2 separate regions of the Homo sapiens genome follow, and region 2 is linked to region 1. The links are contacts of gene promoters, found by promoter capture Hi-C in blood cells and fetal thymus (Javierre and others, 2016). All regions are on one chromosome and are shown on one strand. Each heading gives the region's core, a stretch centred on a gene start or on the middle of the fragment in contact. The rest is flanking DNA. Distances are from core to core; before and after follow the strand shown.

The links. Contacts are between HindIII fragments. The CHiCAGO score rates a contact against its expected background, and 5 or more counts as called.
Region 2: a fragment that was not itself captured here is called in contact with the fragment with the promoter of GRM5-AS1 in region 1 in 2 of 17 cell types (activated CD4 T cells and total CD8 T cells); the score reaches 6.0 in activated CD4 T cells.

The regions. Positions count from the first base shown.
Region 1 is chr11:88,503,323-88,506,022 of GRCh38, reverse strand. GRM5-AS1 (GRM5 antisense RNA 1) reads right to left here and starts at 1,447. Exons shown (of 6, transcript NR_049724.1): 1 at 1-1,447. GRM5 (glutamate metabotropic receptor 5) reads left to right here. Exons shown (of 10, transcript NM_001143831.3): 10 at 1-1,381. The HindIII fragment of the contact is 8,959 bases long and covers 1-2,600 here.
Region 2 is chr11:88,293,326-88,296,025 of GRCh38, reverse strand. It overlaps CTSC (cathepsin C), which reads left to right. Exons shown (of 7, transcript NM_001814.6): 7 at 1,518-2,434. The coding sequence ends at 2,020. Among named protein-coding and RNA genes, the nearest start is that of CTSC, 43 kb to the left of the region's middle. The HindIII fragment of the contact is 677 bases long and covers 912-1,588 here.

The DNA of each region.
Region 1 (2,700 bases), core at 198-2,697:
ATAAGATTATTAGTAATGCATTCTTGAGATCTTTTATTTTGGAATGATGCTAACTCTGTCTCTTTGCCAATTCTAATACCAGGTTCCAAGTAATAACTCTACAGTACAAAGAGAACTGAATATTCATTCTAGGGCTATAGGATATGAACTTCACAATTCATTTGGGTACATTCTCATTGAATTTCCTTCAAAACAATCTGTTCCTGGTGCCCAGTGATAATTCAGTCGGGACCAGCATGACTAAAAGGAAGGGGATATGCTAAGGCTCAGCAAAGTGACCCTAAATGAGAGATATGTCCCAGGATGGAAAGAAGAAGACGTGGTTTAACCAAGTTATACTGACTAATCTAAGCAGTCCACTCATCCTTCCATTTTGGGAAAGGAGTGGGGGCAGCCTAAGAAGAACATATCTGGATTGGGAAGAACCGTCTTTCTGGGCTAGGGATGGGGAACAGAAAGGGAGTATGGAAAGAAAAATTATAAGAGATTTGACTGAAGCAAGGAAAAAAAGCAAATCCCCAAACGTGCTAATCCTTGAAAGTAACTATCTTTCCCAAACTACTGCTGTTACCAGCAAGTGATCAGGAAGACTAGGAGCTATTTCTGACTGTAAATGAATTGTATAATAGCTCTGCTGCAGTTCTGTGACTTCCAAGCCAGGAATTAAATGCTCTTTTTAAGAATAACAAAAAACAAAAGCATTTCCTATGCTAGTCTCCCAGTAAAATGTACATGTTTTGGAGACTTCAAAGGTATTATGTGAGTTCACATTTAGCAACAGCTTATTAATAACCCTCAAGCTGTCAGAATCTCTATAGTTACCATTTACAATTTTATACTGTGAAAAAATACAGATCAGTGAAAGCATAAAGACAAGTCAGAATTCACTTTGAAGAGGGTCTGAGGCCTGGGAGAGTCTCTACTGTCTATTGAAGAATGAGGCATGTATAAAATAGTTGGTTGAATTTCACTGATCTTCCCAATGTGAACAAATATACTATGTATATTGTGTGTATTTCTAGAAATCAATGGCAGCTGCTGATGGTGTTGTAATTAGAAATCTATATAGATTATAGATGTTTTAGAAAGATGGTGCCAATCCTAAAAGATTTGTGTGGGCTAAAAGTGCTTGTACTTACTTTTTTCTGCACTTATAACTGATTTGGTTTTAAAATTGTGTGCGTGTATCTGTTCTTTCTCTGTTGTGGCAGCTTGTACTATTAAAATAATAGAGAATGTTAAATTATTTTGATGTGAACTGCAAATGATTTTTTTTCATAAAGTTTAACATTTTTATCAGCATTGTTTTGCTTTGTACTTGTATAAATATGTTTTATTTTAGCACTTCAAAATATACTTGCCTGTTTCTCAGTTGTCTAAATCATGTTGTACTTGGTGTTTGTGAAGCCAGTTACTTTTCAAAAAAATTAAAAAACCTATAATATGATTTTAAGATTATTCCCCTCAAATGTTTAGAATGTTGTCTTAATAGTGTTTTCTGAGATGAAAAGAGCCATGATACTAATTAATCTTGAATACTGGATGATCTATACATTTGAATTATGGGGTTTACAAAGTAAGCAGTGGACTGTATAGATTTAAATGAAAATATAAACCAACCACAAACCAACCAGAGATGTTGTCCCCAAACACATCTACAAACAACTGTTACATAAAGAAGTACTTAAAAAAATATATAGGAAATATGCATTGTTTATGCATCTAGACATACAAATTATAGAAATAGTTTCATAATTATATGTGTTGATAGAGGTAACATCACACAGATAAAATAGATTATTTGTGTGTGTATAGATGTGTGTTTACAAACATACATATTTATATAGACATTTGACTTTTGAGTCCATCTGCATGTGTCTCTGTGTATATGTGTGTTTGTGTGTAGATGTATGTGCATATTACATAATTTTTCCAGAAAAAAAAAAAGTTTTACTTTGACTGATTCTTGAGCAAATATACATTCCCTGGACACAAATTAGTGAAAAACTAACAGCAGAATATAAGGTAGATGCTTGATGTATGGAAGAGAAAAACAAGGTATATTTAAAAATATATTTGATTTATGCTTCTGACATTGTATTAAATGCATAATGATATATATACATATGTAGATACATATATTATACAGAATGTGTTTGATCTTAACAAAGAAAGCCATTTTATCTGTTTTGTCAGACTCTTCCCTTCAGTATCTTTTATTCTAACGTGATATGAATGGTAATATGTTCACATAAAATTGAGGATGAAGTGACATATACAAACCAGGTACAGGAAATTACCTTCTAAAAATCCAAAGAGCCTTATCAGACTCCATCAAATTATGGAAGGCCATTTAAAACCAGCGGATGCAATAGAAATAGCATTGAATTAAAAGCCAGGATCTCTTACCTGTCACCAACTGACTTTGGATAAATCACTCTGATTTCTCTACAACTTGTTCCTCTTGCTTTAAATGCAGAAGTGAGTTACAATAATCTGTGAAGTTTCTATCATTTCAACATTCCTGATAAATGCTCAATAGTAGCTATTATTAGTGTCAATGTAGTATTTAGTATACAGTTAATATTCAGCAGGAAGCTTAAATTTGTTATATCAATGTTATTTGTGGAGCTTAACAAGTTCCTGTCCAACTTAAAGCATATATCCTGGAGGAAACCTATTGAGGTTTGAACTCATATG
Region 2 (2,700 bases), core at 1-2,500, 210 kb after region 1:
AGTCAGAAAATCTGAGTGCAAGTCTGGCCCTATCACTTATTAATGGATGATTGCTCATGGAATTTACTGTACCATCCAGCAAAATGTCAATAGTTACTATATATTGAGTGAGCTCTGCTTGTTACATATATTGCCTAACAATGCTCAAAACTCTGAGAAGTAGTAAGTATAATCCCTATTTATGGGCGGGGAACAGGAACTAAGAAATTTTTCTAATAATTTGAAGGTCTCACAGCTTTTAGCATTGGAGTTTCACTTCTAATCATCGTCTCCAAAACCCAACTTTTATTAAAACTATACTAACACTGGTTTCTCTCTGGGAGAATTTTAAAATTCTGTACTTAGGGCTGGGCACAGTGGCTTATGCCTATAACCCTATCACTTTGGGAGGCTGAGATGGGTGAATCTCTTGAGTCCTAGAGTTTGAGACCAGCCTGGGCAACACGGCGAAACCCCTTCTCTATTAAAAATACAAAAAATTAGCTGGGCGTGGTGGTGTGTGCTTGTAGTCCCAGCTATTCAGGAGGCGGAGGTGTAAGAATCACCTGAGCCCAGGAGGTCAAGGCTGCAGTGAGCCGATATCATGCCACTGCACTCCAGCCTGGGCAAACGGAGTGAGGCCCTGTTATGAAAAAAAAAAAATCTGTACTTAGGCTTTCAGATCAGGCTGTATGTGATGTATGTCGAAAACACAGCTATAATTGATTGAGGGAGAAACGTTACCATTTTAAAGTTTATGCTTTCAAGCCCAGATTTGGCCACTAGGAATTTCCCAGCTCACTAGTGAAACTGCTGATGAGTGATTATTTGCCAGTGAGCCTTTCATTCTTTCTAAAATATGTACTACTAGTTGTGACTTGTAGGCTATAGGGGCTATAATATATCAAGACAATCTTTATCCTCATGAAGCTTACAGTTAAGTAAGAGATAGAGATTAAATAATTATAACAACAGAGTGAAGAACAGTGAAGAAAAAGTACAGAGTTATAATATATATAATAGGGCCAGGACTGCATGAGGAAGGTAGGAAAGACATTTCGGCAAGAGGTTGTCAGGGAAAAGACTTGCTTGAGAAAGAGCCAAGTTGTGGGGTCTGGCTGCTTAGCAATGACCATAATACCTAACTTTTGCTATTTTTACATGAAGTAACTAATTTAACCCTATGAGGAAAGTACTACTACCATCTAGATTTTACAGGTAAGTAAGCAGAGATACAGAGAAGTTAAACTCTTCACACGGCTTTGGCTTTAAACCTATATAGGCTTCAGAGCCTCCCCACTTAACCACTTTGCCATAGCTACATCCATATTAGGTGCTAAGTAGATATCTGTTAAGTAGAAGGAGGATGAAAGGATAGTTAGCTAGTTGGAAAATGGATGGATGAATGAAGTGATGCTTAAGCTAAGAACAACTTTCAGGGGTAACATGCAAAGAATAATGGAGCAAAGAAGAAAAAATAGAAAATGGGATAATCCTTTTTCTACTAAGGGGTAACCATGTGTGTTATTCATCTTCAGGCTGTGAAGGCGGCTTCCCATACCTTATTGCAGGAAAGTACGCCCAAGATTTTGGGCTGGTGGAAGAAGCTTGCTTCCCCTACACAGGCACTGATTCTCCATGCAAAATGAAGGAAGACTGCTTTCGTTATTACTCCTCTGAGTACCACTATGTAGGAGGTTTCTATGGAGGCTGCAATGAAGCCCTGATGAAGCTTGAGTTGGTCCATCATGGGCCCATGGCAGTTGCTTTTGAAGTATATGATGACTTCCTCCACTACAAAAAGGGGATCTACCACCACACTGGTCTAAGAGACCCTTTCAACCCCTTTGAGCTGACTAATCATGCTGTTCTGCTTGTGGGCTATGGCACTGACTCAGCCTCTGGGATGGATTACTGGATTGTTAAAAACAGCTGGGGCACCGGCTGGGGTGAGAATGGCTACTTCCGGATCCGCAGAGGAACTGATGAGTGTGCAATTGAGAGCATAGCAGTGGCAGCCACACCAATTCCTAAATTGTAGGGTATGCCTTCCAGTATTTCATAATGATCTGCATCAGTTGTAAAGGGGAATTGGTATATTCACAGACTGTAGACTTTCAGCAGCAATCTCAGAAGCTTACAAATAGATTTCCATGAAGATATTTGTCTTCAGAATTAAAACTGCCCTTAATTTTAATATACCTTTCAATCGGCCACTGGCCATTTTTTTCTAAGTATTCAATTAAGTGGGAATTTTCTGGAAGATGGTCAGCTATGAAGTAATAGAGTTTGCTTAATCATTTGTAATTCAAACATGCTATATTTTTTAAAATCAATGTGAAAACATAGACTTATTTTTAAATTGTACCAATCACAAGAAAATAATGGCAATAATTATCAAAACTTTTAAAATAGATGCTCATATTTTTAAAATAAAGTTTTAAAAATAACTGCATTATGGAGTTTATGTTTACTTCAGGGAATTTTTATCACTGACTCAGTAAGATTCACTTATGTTACCTATGTAAGCATTTATTTAAGAAGGAAAAGCATTTGAAGATATTTCAATTAAAAACAAAACTATGAACCTTTATGACAGGGAGATATACTCAGATAATGCCTAGTGAATCCTAAAATTATCCTTGGATGTTTGATGAGTCTGAGACCTCAGAGAAAAGAAATAAGAGTTTTGACAAAATCTGGATATTGGTGAATTTATTT